Linked DNA regions of Homo sapiens: regions 2, 3, 4 and 5 are each linked to region 1. The links are contacts of gene promoters, found by promoter capture Hi-C in blood cells and fetal thymus (Javierre and others, 2016). All regions are on one chromosome and are shown on one strand. Each heading gives the region's core, a stretch centred on a gene start or on the middle of the fragment in contact. The rest is flanking DNA. Distances are from core to core; before and after follow the strand shown.

Evidence for each region. Contacts are between HindIII fragments. The CHiCAGO score rates a contact against its expected background, and 5 or more counts as called.
Region 2: a contact is called between a fragment that was not itself captured here and the fragment with the promoter of NDUFA6 in region 1, in 7 of 17 cell types (non-activated CD4 T cells, activated CD4 T cells, neutrophils and 4 more). The highest score is 6.9, in non-activated CD4 T cells.
Region 3: a fragment that was not itself captured here is called in contact with the fragment with the promoter of NDUFA6 in region 1 in 16 of 17 cell types (M1 macrophages, M2 macrophages, M0 macrophages and 13 more); the score reaches 18.1 in M1 macrophages.
Region 4: the fragment with the promoter of CCDC134 here is called in contact with the fragment with the promoter of NDUFA6 in region 1 in 3 of 17 cell types (total B cells, endothelial precursors and naive B cells); the score reaches 7.6 in total B cells.
Region 5: a contact is called between a fragment that was not itself captured here and the fragment with the promoter of NDUFA6 in region 1, in 1 of 17 cell types (naive CD4 T cells). The highest score is 5.1, in naive CD4 T cells.

The regions. Positions count from the first base shown.
Region 1 is chr22:42,089,214-42,092,663 of GRCh38, reverse strand. NDUFA6 (NADH:ubiquinone oxidoreductase subunit A6) reads left to right here and starts at 1,892. Exons shown (of 3, transcript NM_002490.6): 1 at 1,892-2,058. The coding sequence starts at 1,920. It overlaps NDUFA6-DT (NDUFA6 divergent transcript), which reads right to left and starts at 1,731. Exons shown (of 5, transcript NR_034118.2): 1 at 1,483-1,731; 2 at 1,064-1,367; 3 at 432-545. The HindIII fragment of the contact is 8,372 bases long and covers 730-3,450 here.
Region 2 is chr22:42,369,742-42,373,491 of GRCh38, reverse strand. LOC124905126 (a long non-coding RNA gene) reads right to left here. Exons shown (of 2, transcript XR_007068114.1): 2 at 1,666-2,030. Among named protein-coding and RNA genes, the nearest start is that of LINC01315, 2.4 kb to the right of the region's middle. The HindIII fragment of the contact is 1,667 bases long and covers 630-2,296 here.
Region 3 is chr22:42,471,766-42,475,253 of GRCh38, reverse strand. No RefSeq gene overlaps it. Among named protein-coding and RNA genes, the nearest start is that of NFAM1, 41 kb to the right of the region's middle. The HindIII fragment of the contact is 2,851 bases long and covers 105-2,955 here.
Region 4 is chr22:41,799,040-41,802,693 of GRCh38, reverse strand. CCDC134 (coiled-coil domain containing 134) reads right to left here and starts at 2,015. Exons shown (of 7, transcript NM_024821.5): 1 at 1,928-2,015. MEI1 (meiotic double-stranded break formation protein 1) reads right to left here. Exons shown (of 31, transcript NM_152513.4): 31 at 3,240-3,440. The coding sequence ends at 3,395. RefSeq lists silencers at 1,993-2,052, 2,643-2,732 and enhancers at 2,203-2,282, 2,353-2,432, 2,208-3,194. The HindIII fragment of the contact is 12,855 bases long and covers 1-3,654 here.
Region 5 is chr22:41,692,916-41,696,505 of GRCh38, reverse strand. It overlaps the pseudogene C22orf46P. Among named protein-coding and RNA genes, the nearest start is that of MEI1, 4.8 kb to the left of the region's middle. The HindIII fragment of the contact is 7,463 bases long and covers 1-3,590 here.

The sequences.
Region 1 (3,450 bases), core at 643-3,142:
TGGCCTCCCAAAGTGTTGGGATTACAGGAGTGAGCCACTGCGCCCCATTTTTTTTTTGAATGTTGAACACAATGAATTTATCATGATAGTGGGTACTTCTGAAGGAGGCAGGGGTATACACAAGGTTAGAATCATACAGGTAGATATCATGGTATAGGTGCTGCGAGAGTCAGAAAACTGACTCTGGCACCAGCTGCCTGGGCTTCAACCCCAATGCTGTAAAGTAACTTAGTCTCTTTGTGCCTCAGTTTTCTCATCTATAAAATGAGTATATCAGCCGGGGGCAGTGGCTCACACCTGTAATCCCAGCACTTTGGGAGGCTGAGGTGGGTGGATCACCTGAAGTCAGGAGTTTGAGACCAGCCTGGCCAACATAGCAAAACCCCGTCTCTACTAAAATACAAGCATTAGCCATGCATGGTGGTGCGCACCTGTAATCCCAGCGATTCGGAAAGCTGAGGCAGGAGAATGGCTTGAACATGAGAGGCGGAGGTTGCAGTGAGCCGAGATTGCACCATTGCAGTCCAGCCTAGGTGAGTCTCACTCTGTCTCAAAAAAAAAAAAAAAAAAGGGTATATCAACACAATCTCACTGGTGTGTTGTGAAGCCTAGCCAAGTTAATGTACCTAGAGAACTAGAGAACAGTGGCTACTAAGGACATCTAAGGACACTTTATACAAACCTTAACTGTGTTACAACTTCTTAAGTCAGTACTGAGGTTCAAAAGCTTCCATTTTATTATTATGCTTTATAATTTATATATGTTACGTGCTTTCTTTTGTATAGCTCACTTGAATATATATATACATTTTAGAAGATAATAAGGAAGAAAAAAAGTATATCTGGTTTTTTAACCCTTCGAAATGGGAAAGTTTGGAGTAGATGCTCAGCCCCGGCCCCTGGCCCTTCCCCAATACTCACAGGCTCCTGTCAACTACACCTTCAGAAAAAGACGGAGCCTCTTAGGCAGCAGTCAGGCAGGTGGGGGCGATCTGTCAGGTGACCTAGACTCTGGGCCATCTCAGTTTCCTCACCTGTAAAATGGGGATGCTGAGGTACCTACCTGACCTATGAGAGCGGAGAACACTGAGATATCTTGCCCATGGCCTGCCCTGTGGTTAGCTGTCGTTTTTTCCTTGACACTTGTAGGCTCCTCTTCATGTTTACATAACCTCAGTGGGAAAACGCCAGCGAAGAGAGACACTCAGAATGGACGATCTAAAGTTCCTTCCAGCTTCCAAATTCTGGGCTGGTTTTCAGAGATCCAGGGCTCGGGATGCGAATGTCCCTGTCTACGATGGGGCTGCCGTTACAGCCTTCCTCCCGGGGCTCTGGAGACGCGCCAGCTCTTTGACACCTCTCCTGCGCTAAGGAAGAGTTGGTTTACAGAAAAGTAAGTATATCCTGGCCCTGCAGAAAGCCGCCAGGCGGCAGGACAAGCCCCACCGCAGCCCAGGCGCCATTATCTGCCTCAGCAGTTACCTCGGGGTCCCGCCACGAGGAGGTTCTTCAAGGCCTGCGCGCCCACGGACACTACCAAGGAGCGCGGCGGGCAGCCGGATAGCAGGACGCTGAGGGAAACCCCGCAGTCGCTCGGCGTCCCCGGCGCCAGCTCACGACCCAGCGACCTCCTGCGGCCCGAGCGTCCCCTGGCGGCAACGCCGGCTCGTTAGAGCGAGCGACAGATGGTGTAGTCCAAAGGCCAAGCGGCGTTTCTGTAGATGAGCATGCGCAGCACCCACCGTTCGCTCAGCCAGAGAGAGGCTTCCCAGCCAATCCGAGAGCCTCAGAGTCATCCTCCCGCCCACCCAGCATACAGGCGGGGCGTTCCTCCTTAGCCAATGGGAAAAGACATTCGCCCGCGGTCCGCACGCGCTGCTTGCAAAGGGGTGGGGTTGTGGAGTGGATGCTTTGGCAAGATGGCGGGGAGCGGCGTCCGCCAAGCTACTTCTACCGCCAGCACCTTCGTGAAGCCCATTTTCAGTCGGGACATGAACGAGGCCAAGCGGAGGGTGCGCGAGCTCTACCGCGCCTGGTATCGGGAGGTGCCGAACACTGGTGAGAGGTAGCGGCTTACGTGGGGACCCGGAGGCCGCCGCTCAAGGTCGTAGCCGGCCCGGCCGGGGTTTCTCATGGGCCCAGCTGAGGTCACCAACTTGGGCAGAGGCGACTGCGGGTGCTTCAGGGGAAGAGGGTCACCCGAGCCTACCATGGGCCGGACCTGGCGGCGGCGCGGTGGTCAGACCGGCCGTGCCTAGCATTCGTACGTGCTATCGGAGCTTTGGTCTCTTTTGTCCTTCGCAATTGGCGGGAGGACGATGACTGTCAGTGACACACTCACTTTGTGGGTGAGGCAGCGGAGGCACCGAGAGGTGAAGTGATGTGCCCAGGGCCCAGGCCGAGCCACTGTTGTACCCAGAACCCAAAGTCTAGAGTTGCAGAGTGTAATTATAGATGCCCGTTGGATTTTTTTGTTTGTGACAGAGTCTCGCTGTGTCGCTCAGGCTGGAGTGCAGTGGTGCGATCTCGGCTCACTGCAAGCTCCGCCTCCCGGATTCACGTCATTCTCCTGCCTCAGCCTCAGCCTCCCGAATAGCTGGGATTACAGGCGCCCGCCACCACGCCGGCCATTTTTTTTTGTATTTTTAGTAGAGACGGGATTTCACCGTGTTAGCCAGAATGGTCTCGATCTCCTGACCTCGTGATCCGCCCGTCTCGGCCTCCCAAAGTGCGAGAAAGAGGTGTTTTTGAGTGAGCTGGAGCACGGTGCCACTCCTCAGGGCTGTCGAGTCCCTGCTTGTGTGTGTGAAAAGGCGGTAGAATGTGGTGGTTAGGAGCACGGACTTTTCTTCAGGCGCTGCCCTCAACTAGCTGTGTGACCTTGGGCCAGTTATTTCATCTATTCCTCAGTTTCTTCATCTTTAAAATGGGAATAATAATTCCTTCTTCAGAAGGTTACTGTATTAAGTTAAAATATCTAGAGTGCTTAGAACAGGACTTGATGCATATTTAACTCATTAAATATTAGCTGCTGCCGTTGTTTTTGTTGTTATTTTTGTTATTTATAGGGCTTTCCTTAGCAGCAGCTTCCAAGCAGAACCCGGTTCTTTGACATATGAGAACTGTGTCTGCTCCACAGAGTCCCTGTCTTCAAGCTGACTTTTGGAAAAATTGCTACTGACCAGAACTTAAACCCACGCGATACTAGAGAAGGAGAAACTTGAGTGATCTGCTGGTTCAGGGACTGCAAATTCAGATGCCTTCAGGGGCAGGCAGATAAAAGATGTGTGTGGGGAGTGACTGTAGCAGTGTGTGTGTGTGTGTGTGTGTGTGTGTTTCGGGGTGGTGCATTCAAATTCAGCAGTTTGAAAACATAATGTTTGCCTGGCAGAATACTTCTAGGAGTACCCAGAACCCTCTCTGGTTGCAGGAGGAAGGTGCTGGGGGAAG
Region 2 (3,750 bases), core at 214-2,713, 280 kb before region 1:
CTCAAGATCACTCAGCTGGCAAGAGGCAGAGCCGCTGAATGTGTGGCCATGAGATGACCAGGGCACCCAAGCCGAAGGGCTCGTGAGGAAAGAGGCCACACTGGCTGCCCACTGCCCCTAGGTTCCAATCCCGGCACCCATCTGGGCCCACATAGAATTGGACCATTCCTGGTGGGCTTGGCTTTAGGAAAACCTGATAGCAAATTCCAAACCAATAAGAGCAAATAAATGAGGGGTGATTACCGACAATAAGAGAGGATACACTGCAGGGTGCCTCCAAATCGCATCTCCTCCAGTACGTTTTAAGTGCTTTATAGGTCATTAACTACTTGACAGAGAGAGCCTGACACTTAAAGCAAAGAATTTGGTACCTCTGCCAGGGAAAATCAATCAGAAATGAAGCTAGAGCATCAGAGGCGTTAAGATTTACTGGGTAGGCCAACGGGATTCAATTGACGCAGAATTTTAAGACCCTCTCCACTGTGTAAAGTAAGGCACACTGGTATTTGAAGCCATTTATAAATCCCAAACTAGAATTTAGAAACACTTAACCTCTCCCCTGCCATTTTTGTGTGTGTGTGGATGTTAATGAAATATTTCGAAGACATGGAAAAGTACAGAGATAAGCTTAAGCATCTAAGTCCCCCATCTGACTCTGTCAAATGAAATATTGCAGCTATGTGCAGCTATGATTGAAGCACCCACTATTTTTTTTTTTTTTTTTTTTGAGATGGAGTCTCTGTCTGTCGCCTGGGCTGGAGTGCAATGGTGCAATCTTGGCTCACTGCAACCGCAGCCTCCCAGGTTCAAGCGATTCTCTTGCCTCAGCCTCTCAAGTAGCTGGGACTACAGGTGCGTGCCACCATACCCAGCTAATTTTTGTATTTTTAGTAGAGACAGGGTTTCACCATGTTGGCCAGGCTGGTCTCGAACTCCTGAGCTCAGGTGATCCACCCACATCGGCCTCCCAGAGCGCTGGGATTACAGGTGTGAGCCACTGTGCGCAGCCAACAGGTGCACCTCTAGAAAGAGGGTGCTTCGGATGGGCACAGTGGCTCATGCCTGTGGTCCCAGCACTTTGGGAGGCTGAGGAGGGAGGATCACCTGAGGTCAGGAGCTCGAGACCAGCCTGGCCAACATAGTGAAACCCTGTCTCTACTAAAAATACAAAAATGAGCTGGGTGTGGTGGTGCATGCCTGTAGTCTCAGCTACTAGGGAGGCTGAGGCAGGAGAATTGCTTGAACCCAGGAGGCGGAGGTTGCAGTGAGCGGAGATCGTGCCACTGCACTCCAGCCTGGCAGCAGAGTGAGACTCTGTCTAAAAAAAAAAAAATTGGTGGGGCATGGGGGCATGCACCTGTAGTCCCAGCTACTTGGGAGGCTGAAGCAGGAGAATCACTTGAACCTGGGAGGTGGAGGTTGCAGTGGACCAACATTGCACTACTGCACTCTAGCCTGAGAGACAGAGCGAGACTCCGTTTCAAAAAAAAAAAAAAAGTGCACCTGTTTTTTCTTCCTGGCTTTTCAAATCCTTTCTGTCTTCTGGCTCTGCCTTGTCAGGGAGACCTAAGCTGACCACCCACCCCTGCCCAAGACATCACTCCTTCCTCTGAAATCAGAGTGCAATTACTGCCTCTTTAATTAGCTTGGCAATTAATCACCAGCTGCTTATGAAACAGCTTTTATTGTCCTTGTCCATCTTGGGATGTGGGTGGGAATGAGGACCAGGCAGGAAGAGGGAGGAGGGGCAGGCAGGCAGGGCCCTGCTCTGGCACCAGGCTGGGCAGGGTCAGCTGAAAAGGCCTGATGTCCAGAGGGTCGGCTGCCTCCCAACTCTGTTTCCACAGCTGCTAGGCACCAGGATCTGTGTAGTCCCAAGAGAACAGTGGGCAGCGACAGGGACATCCACCTTGTGCAGCCCTGGGGCCTCTGCTCTCGATGTTCCCTACTAATCAAAATGTTCTTTCCTCATTGAGCCTTGTTGAACTGTGTCCCCCAGAAAGATATATTGAAGTCCTGACCGCCGATACCTGTGAATGCAACCTGATTAGGAAATAGGGTCTTTGCAAATGTAATCTTCTTAAGATGAGGTCATACCGGATTAGGATGGGGCCTAAATCTAATGACTGATGTCCCTATAAGAAGGCCATGTGAAGACAGATGCAGGGAGCACTCATTCACCACACCACCAAGCCAGCTCCTCCTCTTCATGCCTCAATCTGGCTGCCTATGGGAGACAGGCTCTCAGCATTTTTCTAGTTGATTAACCCTTCTCTGCCCAACTCCGGGAGAAGCTTCTACACCTTCCTTTGTCAGAGGAAGCCCTCTCCCCCATCCCATCTCATACATCATCTCTCAATCAAAAGGACCTACTTGGGGGGGCATCCCAAGGACCCCCTCTCCATCAGAGAACAGCAGCCGGGAAGTCAGTCTGCTTCACGGTGCTCCCCATGACTTCCACAGGAAAATCCACCCCAAATGCCCCAAACTGTCAGAGTGGGCAATGCAGCATGGTTTGAGCAGAGTGCTTCCAACTTCCCCTGTGATGGGGGTGCAGAGGGGGGTTCAGGGGATGGATTCCCAGGAAGGGAAAGAGCCCAGCAGGTTACCAGGAATTTAACATGGAAGCAGAGGCTGTGTCATTCATACTGCCAAGCACAGTGCTGGGTATAGCATGTTCAAGCATGTTCATTTAAATGACACTTTTTTTTTTTGAGACAGAGTTTCGCTCTTATCACCCAGGCTGGAGTGCCAGTGGCATGACCTCAGCTCACTACAACCTCTGCCTCCTGGGTTCAAGTGATTCTCCTGCCCCAGCCTCCCGAGTAGCTGGGATTACAGGTGCCCACCAGCATGCTCAGCTAATTTTTGTATTTTTTAGTAGAGATGGGGTTTCATGATGTTGGCCAGGCTGGTCTCGAACTCCTGACCTCAGGTGATCCACCCACCTCGGCTTCCCAAAGTGCTGGGATTACAGGCGTGAGCCACTGTGCCCGGCCGAAGTAAGTTTTTTTGTTTTTGTTTTTGTTTTGTTTTGAGATGGAGTCTCACTCTGTCACCCAGGCTGGAATGCAGTGGTGCCATCTCGGCTTACTGCAAGCTCCGCCTCCCGGGTTCACGCCATTCTCTTGCCTCAGCTTCCCGAGTAGCTAGCTGGGACTACAGGTGCCCACCACCACGCCAGGCTAATTTTTTGTATTTTTAGTAGAGACGGGTTTTTTTTTTTTTCTGTCACCCAGGCTGGAGTGCAAGTGGTACAATCATAACACTGCAGCTTCCAACTCCTGGGCTCAAGTGATCCTCCCACCTCAGCCTCCCAAGTAGCTGGGAGTACAGGTGCACACCACCATGCCCAGAAAACTTCTTAATTTTTTTTTTGTAGAGACGGGGTTTCGCCATGTTGCCCAGGCTGGTTTCGAACTCCTGGGCGCAAGCGCTTCTCCCACCCTGGCCTCCCAAAGTGCTAGAATTATAGGCGTGAGCCACAGGACCTGGCAGTAATAACCCATCTTCTAACCTATCTTGTGCTCTAACACAACACTCTTGATAGACGGGAAACTGAGCTCTGACACTGCACAGGGCATCACTGTGTAGAGGATCCGAGATCCAGTAATGTAAGCATGTCCCAGCATCAGCTCAGCCATTCATCCCCACGTGACCGAATTTCGCTGCACCTCGGTTTCCTCATCCTCGGGAGAGAATAGTAATATCTCCTAGGGATGTTGCCAACATTAAAGATAGCTCTAAACA
Region 3 (3,488 bases), core at 281-2,780, 380 kb before region 1:
CTCAGAGGGAGGCTGGGATCAGATAGTGCAGGTGCACTGGTTTTCTCTCCCAGCCTAGGTCATCATAATTAGTGTGATTTCCATGCCATTGTCAAACACAAGCTTGATTCTGTGTGTGAGATGGCTGTGTTTTAACAATGTGTGATTCTTGTAGATTTGTTCACGAAGTTGTTTGAGATCTGGCTGTAAGACACAGGCAATTGTTACCCATTCATAAGGTCACTTTTTCTTTTTTTTTTTGAGACAGAGTCTCACTCTATTGGAGTGACTGGTGCGATCTCGGCTCACTGCAACCTCCACTTCCTGGGTTCAAGTGATTCTCCTGCGTCAGCCTCCAGAGTAGCTGGGATTACAGTTGTGCACCACCACACCTGGCTAATTTTTGTATTATTAGTAGAGATGGGGTTTCACCGTGTTGGTCATACTGGTCTCGAACTCCTGACCTCAGGTGATCCACCTGCCTCGGCCTCCCACAGTGCTGGAATTACAGATGTGAACCACCACGCCCAGCCCCAGTCACCTTTTAAATTTACTGAATAGACTGATTCATCCTTCTAAGAGAAGGGATAGCCAGGTGCAGTGGCTCACACCTGTAATCCCAGCACTTTGGGAGTCTGAAGTGGGTGGATCTCTTGAGCCCAGGAGTTTGAGACCAGCCTGGGCAACATGGTGAAATCCTGTCTCTACAAAAAATTAGCTGGACGTGGCTGGGCGCGGTGGCTCACGCCTGTAATCCCAGCACTTTGGGAGGCTGAGGAGGGCAGATCACGAGGTTAGGAGATCAAGACCATCCTGGCTAACACGGTGAAACCCCATCTCCACTAAAAAAAAAAAAAATACAAAAAATTAGCTGGGCATGGTGGCAGGCACCTGTAGTCCCAGCTACTCGGGAGGCTGAGGCAGGAGAATGGCGTGAACCCAGGAGGCAGAGCTTGCAGTGAGCCGAGATATAGCCACTGCACTCCAGCCTGGGTGATAGAGCAAGACTCCGGCTCAAAAAAAAAAAAAAAATTAGCTGGACGTGGTGGTGCATGCCTGTAGTCCCAGCTTCTCGGGAGGCTGAGGCAGGAGGATTCACACCCAGGAGGCGGAGGTTGCAGTGAGCTGAGATCGTGTCACTACACTCCAGTCTGGGTGACAGCACGCAACTCTGTCTCAAAAATAAATAAATAAATAAATAAATAAATAAATAAATAAATAATAAATAAATAAATAAAAATGGTAACCCTAGTTTGCATAATGGTTTTGAGCTATGAACCTAGACTTAAAGGGAATACATTGAATAAATCGAATGACCATGGAGAATTAGATGAGACCTGTTGTAACCAAGTGACTTGTTTTCTTATTTTGTGTATTTGGGTCTCAACTTCCCCAAAGAAATTTATCCAGGTGTGGCATGTAGTATTAGCAATAGCACAGACATTTCCTTATCCAACCAATAAATAATATAGAGCAAATTCATCATCTAGTATCCCACAACTGGGATGCATTAAAGCCGAGTGAACAACAGTTCTATTAGGGATGTTGCCAAAGTTACCCACTAGGTGGCCTAAAGGATCTCTTAGGTCAGGTTCTGTCAAGTTACCAGCAGAAGCTACTGATTGGGAAGTTTCAGTTGCATCATTATCCTGCCAAGTGGAAAAAATTGGCATAAGCAGGGAAGAATTAAGAGGGACAAGAGGCTCATGATGGGGACTCTTGTTCTGTTGTCTTGGGAAAAGCCACCCACAGCATGAAGCCATCAACTGCTTGTCCTGGTTTACAGTTAGACTGTCTCTGCTCATGGCATGAGGCAGTCCAGTGAACTTTCTATATGGTCCATAGATCACACACAAGACTCATCCCTTAAAATTCATTTAGTTTCAGCTTATAGTGCCTTAGGAACAGAGCAATTCCCATTCTTAGTATTCTATGGAAGAAAGTTGGATTGGAGGAACCAAAAATAATTTAGGGTCAGGTGGGTACGGTGGCTCACGCCTGTAATCCCAGCATCCCGTGCACGCCTCAACCAGGGTAAAAATCTTTATGCTGTATGCAGGCAGATGTGCACAGAAATAGAACTAAAAATGGTCTATAACTGATTCCCTTGAGCTCGCAAGTCCCCACTCTTGCTCACGGCAAAAGAGAGAAAGGAAATAACACCAGGAACATGCTCATCAGAGCTAACTCAGCCTCTTCAGTCTTCCAAAACTCCCTTCCTCATTAACGCGTCAAGATTAAAGTTCAAGTTCAGGTTCAAGTTCCGATCAAGTGTCTCTCCCTGCTCCTTTCTGAGATGCTGCTAGGGTGCGGGGTAACTAGGGCACCCTCCTGGCTCCTGCCTCTCAGCCATGGCCAGGGCGGTTCCTGGACCTTCCGTCCTGGTGTCCACGAGGCGATACCATCATGCATTATTCTCAACCTCCAGCCCAGGGCTCCCAGCCTGGCCTCTGTACCCCAATCTCAGTCTTTTGATTCATCAGGGCCTGGGCTGCTTTTCCCACTCCACACTAGAGAGTGTAGGCTGGGTGTAGCCTCACACTAGATCTGTGAGGCTGCCTTCCAGGCCACTGTCCTAGACCCTTTCCTGGCCATTTCCAAAGCATGCCTGAGCAGCCCCTGTCGTTCTGCTGCCATGCTCACCGCAGGCCTTGCTACCACTGTGTTAACCCCGAGGAGGGAATCAGGACGCTGACATCTGATCTCCTGTGTCTTCCTACTGATGGGAACTTCCCTAAGTCACACCTTCAGACCCTGTGCACTGCTTATAATCCAAGTCCAGGATTCTGTTATTTACGTCTTAAAGCAGAGCCTTTGGAATTTAGAAAATCTCTTTTTTCTCTGAAAGCTCAGTTTCAAGACTACCGAATCACATGCACTTGGAGTCAGTCTTAATACTTAAAAGTGAAAGCGTCTTTCTTTCTCATCACCTACCTACTATGAAAATCATAATTATCCTTGAGGCCAACAGAAGCTTCTGACTGAATAAGAGAAGGAAAAAATATTAATACATCTAAGATAGTATCTGGCCAGGTGCGGTGGCTCATGCCTGTAATCCCAGCACTTTGGGAGGCTGAGGTGGGCAGGTCATTTGAGGTCAGGAGTTCGAGGCCAGTCTGGCCAACATAGTGAAACCCTGTCTCTACTAAAAATACCAAAAAGAAAAAAAAAAAAAAGAGCCTGGCATGGTGGCACACACCTGTAATCCCAGCTACTCGGGAGGCTGAGGCACGAGAATCGCTTGAACCCAGGAGATGGAGGTTGCAGTGAGCCAAGATTGCACCACTGCACTCCCGCCTGGGTTACAGAGTGAAACCCTGTCTCGAAAAAAAAAAAAAAGATAGTATCCCTCTTTTACTTGTAGCATAGCACTTATCACAAATGTACTAGAATTGTTCCATATCTGTCATCCTAAATAGAGAGGAATTACTTAAAGGAAGGGCACAAATCTTACTCACTTTTTATGTCAAGTGCCTAAATATTGTGCCTGGCACTTTATACGCTCCCAG
Region 4 (3,654 bases), core at 766-3,265, 290 kb after region 1:
ATCCGCCTGCCTCGGCCTCCCAAAGCGCTGGGATTACAGGTGTGAGCCACCGCGCCCGGATGTTATTTATATATATTTTTGTATTTTAGTAGAGACGGGTTTCTTCATGTTGGTCAGGCTGGTCTCGAACTCTCAACCTCAGGTGATCCGCCCGCCTTGGCGGTTGCCCAGGCTGGTCTTGAACTTCTGGACTCAAGTGATACTCCCTCCTTGACCTCCCAAAGTACTGGGATTACAGACGTGAGCCCCTGCTCCCAACCACTACAAGGGTTTTGACACTGACTCCTAGTCACCAGTCTCCAACTGGAGACTCCTAGTCTCCAACATGGCAAGAGACCAACAACCCAAGATAGGTCCGTCCCAGCACTGAGGGACCTAACTACAGGATGACTGATCAGTAAAGTTTTTGGAGAAAGATCTTGACCAAAAGGGGGAAATATGAAAGTTGTTAGAATCAAAACAGAGTCGTTTGTGTTAAAAACTCTGACAAATTTAAAGCATGATTCTCCAATGGGAAAAAACAAGAACAACAACTCTGACAAATAAAACCGAGGAAGGTTGTGAAAAGAGGGTTCTTATGCACAAATGACTGATAACAAGATCACAAAAAATGCAAAAACCACAACCCTGCACAAAGGCCACTGCAAACTTACACAGAAAAATCTTTCTGTGAGGACATCTGCCCTGCAACTGCCTGTCCAACCTCAGACTAGCACCACTCTTGCTATTCATCCTTGTAGCCAAGGATAACTATCTCAAAATAATCATGTAATCCTCATTTTTCCTTTTCAAAACCTTTGTCTTCCTTTACCTCCCCAAATACGTACACAGGTTACTATGGCACACATATTGTCACTACAATGTCTATTCCCAAGTAAACATCATTTTTTTAGAGTCTCTCACTCTGCTATTTAGGTTGACAGTACCTACCACACTCTAGGCACTGTTCTAGAGGCGGGAATACAGCAATAAATAAGCAAAAATCTCTGCACTCATGGTACTTGTCTCTAGTAGGGATAAGAGTTGATCAATAAACTTGTAAAATAAGCACAGAGGGATGAGAGGGTGTCGGTCAGGTACAAGATTACATAAAGTGGTCAGGAGAGGTCTCACACTCAGATTACAACTCCCCAATGTTACCAATGTGAAATCAAGGCACAGAAAAATGAGGTGACTGCCCAAAGTCACACAGCTATTCCCAGGCTGAACCAAGTGTCTGTTTGGCTCTAAGTCCAGTGCTCTGTCTTCTGACTCTTTGTAAATGAGCACAGGCTACCTGAGATCAGAGCTGGCTACTGAACTACCAGGACACCTGCCCCAGGGGAGAGATGCTCAGTTACAGACAGTGAGGGGCTGCAGAGATCATCCGGAGAACCCCCTACCCCCAAGCAGACGAGATAAGTGAAACCTAGAGAAGGAATAGTCCAAGTTCACCCAGGACCCTCCACATTCCACCTCCTGCTCCAAACTCAAGGGAACCAGAACCAGGCTAGGGCAAAACTTTAGGGGCCAAGGAGAATACCAGACAGCTGGCAATGACTGAAGCAGGTAGTGGGAAAGAAAAGCCAGAACAGCAGCCTGCGGGACAGGTCCTGCTTTCTCTACTGTTAAACTCACTTTTTCAGCCTCTCAATCCCGATCCTGCCGTATGCGTCACCCGGAGCTCCTCCTGGCTCAGCATGAGGCTCTGAACTCCTGCAGAGGTACCAGGTAGTGGCGGGCCTTGAGCCAGCTACCGGGGTCGGGGGCCCAGGTGGTTGACCCCGAGCCTTCGGAGCTCCCGGAGGAGGGAGCGAGCCTTCTCAAGGAACAGAGGCGTCCAGGTCCACGAAACTCCCTCCCCACCACCTGCAGCCGGTTCGAGGCCCTCGGTTCTCTCATTATCCTTCCCGGGAACCTGCAGCCCGCGGCCCCTACAGCCACCTACCTGGCCAGTCGGTGCAGGAAGGGCAGGTGGCCGAGTCCTGTGCGAGCAGCTAGGCTCGAAGGTCCAACAGGCTAACAGCAAAGCAACTGAAAGCGGGAGCAAACGGCTAGCAACCGAGCGCAGACCGCCGAGCTCCGTCCCGCCCACCGCGCTGCTCCCGGCCAATGAGCGCGAGCCGCCACTGCGGGGCTCCGCTAGCCTCACTTCCGGCCCCGCTCCACCGCCCCTGCCTGCCCCTCCAGGCTCTGGCGTGCCTCCAGCGCGCTGTGGGCACCATCCTCGTCCTGTCCCTCCTGCGGGCCCTGGGTACGTGGCCCTGGATTTAGCTTGTGTTGGAGGAAGTTAAATCTGTGGGTGGGGTCTGTGCCCAATTTAAGGCGTGAATCAGCAAACTGGGGTCCCAGCTCCTGTCGGCCGGGCGACCTTCTGCGCGCCCTCCCTGAAACTGTGTCGTCGTCTGTGGCCGAGTTTTTAAACTTTAGATCGCAACGTGAGTTTAGTGGGCGGTGACTAGCACTTTTGTTCTTCTTTAAGGACCTCAGAGACTCAGTGCAGGATTCGGGCATCCCCTCCTTGCCCCTCCGGTCCACCAACTAATAAGCCAAGTGCGGCGGGGGCTTCCTCGTCCGTTCGTTAGGCCGAGTGCAGCCCCACTTTTGCGCAGGATCAGGACAGTCAGACCCGAGAAGGCAGCGTGGCGTGGCCATCTCCGGGCCCGGGGCCCCTGCCGGGCGGGAAGGGAGCTGGAGGCCCGGTCTGGGCTGAGCTCCCCAGAACAGGCGCAGGGCAGGCACTGTCGAGCGCAGACCTCATGCCGGGGACCAAGCTGGACATGCATTCCCAGGATCTACCCACGAGGGTGCATAAACACCAGTTCTGATGACGGCTGTACGGGAAGGGACAGAGGTGACCTACTTTAGCCAGACAAGGGCTGAGGCTGGGACAGTTTCGTTCTGATAGGAAAGCTGAGAATTTGACCCTCCTTGCCTGGAAAGTTTACCTCTATCCACCTCCACGTGAGGCGAGGGAGCAGGTCAAGTGCCTCTGGGAGCTGTTGAATCGCAGCAGCCCCAACCCCTAGGCCTTTCTCTGCCCTGCCAGCCCCAGGATGGCCTGACTGGTGTTCTCTGAGTACAGCTGAGGCACCCAGCTGACTCCTTGAATGCTGTTACAAGAACAAATCCTGTCCCGTCCCTCCTTCCCTGAGGAGGCCATCAGTCTCCTTGCTGAAACAATCCCTTATCCAACTGGCTGAGAAACCAGCTCCTGGTAGACAAGGTAGTACAGTGTTTTTGGAGAGCTCGCGCAGGTATGTGAGTGTATCATTTTATTTCCTTATTCTATTTCAACAATAGAGTATATGGCTCCATATGAATAGCTTCAGCTGTCATCCATTTCCCCAACAATTATGCCCTTTGTCTCCAGGTCTCATTCTCTCTCCACTTCTGGGCCTTCAAGTCCTGAGGATCAGTTTCTGATGTGGGACAGGGATACAGCCACCCCTCCCAGGCAGCTGGCAGCAAAACATGAGAGGAAAACAGCAGAGAAGTGGGGCCAACCATGGGGGCATCACACTTCCAGAGCCCAAAACAGTCAAGAATGGTCAGGCAAGAACAGAAGTGCTCCTGAGAATAGTGGGATGGATTCTGAAATTGGGTCCTGAACACCTGGGCTAGGTAGTTGCTATTCAACAGGGAACTATTGCACGGAAGGGGCAAGGAAGAGAG
Region 5 (3,590 bases), core at 907-3,406, 400 kb after region 1:
GTTCCTGTTCCCGGGTCCCACATCCATAGCCAGTGAAGGCTGGAGGCCATGGTAGGCTGTGCTTCCTGCCTGTGGGCCTCTCACTCCCAGAACAGTCGACTTGGAGACTGTCCCTCACAGCATCCTCTCCTCTGACCAGATCCTTGTTTCCTCCCCTTGGTGCTCGAGGCTCTCCAACATCCTCATCTGTGCACTTTCTCTGGCTTCCTATATCCTGGAGTTCTGCAACATCCTCAACTCCACCGTCATTCTTATTTCCTTGCCCTTGTACCTGGATCTCTTCAGCAATTTCAACTCTTAACTGTCCCTGGTCATCTCCTGCAGGAGCCTGGGTCTCTGTACCATCATCAGCTGTGGTCCCTCTCAGGTTTCTCTTCCCCTGTATTTGAATTTCTTCATCATTCCCACCTCCACCCTGTTCCTGGTTCTTCCACTCTGATAAACGGGTCTTTCCATTATCTTTACTTTTTAACAGTCTGTTTCTTCGCTCTAAGCCTCCAGTTTTTTCCCCTAAGCCTCCAGATCATTCTACCGTCCTCGTTTCCAACCTCTCTCTGGTTTCTCTTCTCTGATGCCTGATTTTCTGCAACATCCTTTCCAATCAGCTCCCAGTTCCTCCTCCCTGGTGAATGGCTCCCTCCAATTTCACTATCTAACTGGTCCTCGTTCTCTCTCTTAGGTCTCTGAGTCTTTACACCGTCCTCACCTCCAGGTTCTCTCTGGTTTCTCTCCACTGGAGCCTGAATTTCTGTTCCATTCTCACTTCCCATCTGCTTCTGGCTCTTCCACTCTGATAAAAGGATCTTTCTACCAAGATCACTTCTAAACTGACTCTGGGTTTCTTTCCCAGGTGCCCAGGTCTTTACACCGTCCTCACCTCCAACTTCTCTCAGGTTTCTCTTCCCTTGTATCTGAATTTCTGCCCCATTCTCACCTCCAATCTGCTGATCTTTCTTCCATTCTGCTGAATGCATTTCTCCATCAATTTGACTTGTTAATTTGCCCCAGTTCCCTGACTCAGATATCTGGGTATGTGCACCATCTTCGCCTCTAATATGTTCCTGATTCTTCCCCTTTGGTATGTGAATCTTTCCACTAAATTCATTTCCTAACTGACCCTGATTTTTCCTCCCAAGTTCCTGGGTGTCTTTATCATCCTCACCTTTAACCTCTCTCCTCCCTAGTGACTGAATGTCTGTACCATCCTCTTCTCTAAGTGGCTCATTGCTCTGAGTCTCCACATCAGTTTCACCTTTTAATTGTTCCTGGATCTCAGCCTCGGGTGCCAGGATATTTGTGCCATCCTCACATCCATCCTTTCTTTGGTCTCTCTTCTCTGATGCCTGAATTTCTGCTCTATGTTCACCTCCAATCCAGTTCTGATTCTCCCAACATAGTATCTCAAATTCTCTATAAATTTCACTTGCTACTTGTCTCCGGTTTCCCCACCATAGTGCCTGGATCACCACCCAATCCTTCTCTTATCTCCCTGAGCTTCTTCTTGGTAGCTATCTGGGTTTCCTTAGCATCTTCATCTCTTCTCAGGCCCTTATTTCCCCACCCCACTTGAATTTCATGACTTAATTGTTTCTGGTTCTCTCCCCCAGATGCTTGGGTCTTCTTAGCTTTCTTACTTCCACCTTGATCATGCTTCTCCCACCTTGGTGTCTGGATCTCTGTAACATTCCCATTTCCAACACATTCCTGTTTTCCCCAATCCAAGGCCTGGGTCTCTACACTATTCTCTTTTTTTACTTCTCCCACGTTCTCCCTCCCACATGATTGGGTTTGTGCAGCATCCTGACCTCCAACCTGATCCTTGTTTCTCCCCTCTTCCATCTGAATTTCCACATCCGCATCACCTTTCATCTGATCTTGTTTCTCCCACTGTGGTGTCTGGGTCTCCTCACCATTCTCATCTCCAGTCTGGCCTTGCTTCCCCAATCCTTGAGCCTGGATCTCTTCCCCATCCTCCTCTCCAGCCTCTTTCTTGTCCTTCTTCTCAAATGTCTGGGTCTCCACAGCATCCTCACTTCCATTCTTATCCTGGTTCTCCCACTCAGGTGTTTGGGTCTCTGCATCAATTTTACATCTTAACTGTTCTTGGTTCTCTCCCATATGTGCCTGGGTTTCAGGGAGATTCTCACCTCCAGCCTCCCTCTGGTTTCTATTCCCTAGTTCCTGAATGTTGGTTCTACTCTCAACTCCCATCCGGTCCTGGGTGTCCCACCCTGGTGTCAAGATCTCGCCATCAGTTTCACTTATTACTAGTCTCTGGTTTGCACACTCCAACACGTTAGTCTCTGCATCACCCTCCATTCCAAAGTCTACTGGGAACTACTCCCCAGATGCCTGGATTTCTGAAGCATCCTCCCGTCTGCTCCCTGTCTGGTTCACCCACCTTGGAGCCTGGGTCTCTCTACTATCCTCTCTGCCTGCTTTCTGGTTTTTACCCCCTGGTTCCCAGGCCTCTGGTCGACAGTGCCAAGACTTCCAAGTGCACATTCTCAGTGTTTGGTGGGAAGGATCAGGCAGGAGCTCTCTGGGGGCAGAACTGCAGCCTCTCAGCTGAAAGTAAGTTTGGAAGAGAGGTGGTTAAGGTCATGGAGGTGGGGCGAGACCTCACACTGATGACAGGCTCCAGTGACACCAACCTTTCCTGTGAGTGAAGCAGCAGCTGCTCCATCTCTTGACACATGTCCAAGGCAGGGCGAGTCTGACCATCATGGAGACACCAAGGCACCTGCCATGCTTTCCAGGAACTGTTCTGAGGCAGTAAACAGGTGTTTGAAATGGAGGTGGTACAAAAGATGGGCTCAGAGTGGGTGTGGACACCCGAAGGTGGGCCTGGACATGGGTGCTGTGGAGAGAGCAGGTTCTGGGCCCATGATTCCTGGAGGCTCCTCCGGTATCCCCATCTCTGCCTTTGTGCGCATTGTTGAGAATCTAGGCCCCTGGACTTTCCAGGACTGAAGAATTCAGGAGTCAGCTTGAAGACAGTTTCGCACCTCATGGAGGGCACTGCCCGCTTCTGCAGTGGCACCTGTAGATGAGAACAGAGAAGCAAAATCCTTGCACACATAATAACTTGCATAATCCGCACAGACAGAATAGTCAGGAAAGGCTTCTTGGAGGAAGTGACATTTGACTGGAGCCTGAATGAAGTAAGGGGCAAACCAAGTGACATCTGAGGAAAGAGCGTTGTAGGCAGAAGAGACATTAAGTACAAAGGCTTGAGGATGGAACAAAATTACATGTACAGGAACAGCAAAGAAGACTGTGTGGCCAGAATGGAACCAGTAATGAGGAGAGCACTGGGAGATAAGATCGGAGACAAACATGGGACAGATTATGCTGGTCCTTAGAGTCGTGATTAGGAGCGAGAATTTTATTCTGAGTTTGCCAGATAATGTAAGTATAGGAGCCATTGCAGGGTTTTGAGCAGCTAAGTGCTATGTTCTGTTTCTAAAAGTTTGTTCTGATGGCAGGGCATGGTGGCTCATGTCTGTAATCCCAGCACTTTGGGAGGCCAAGATGGGTGGATCACTTGAGGTCAGGAGTTCCAGACCAGCCTGGCCAACATGGCAAAA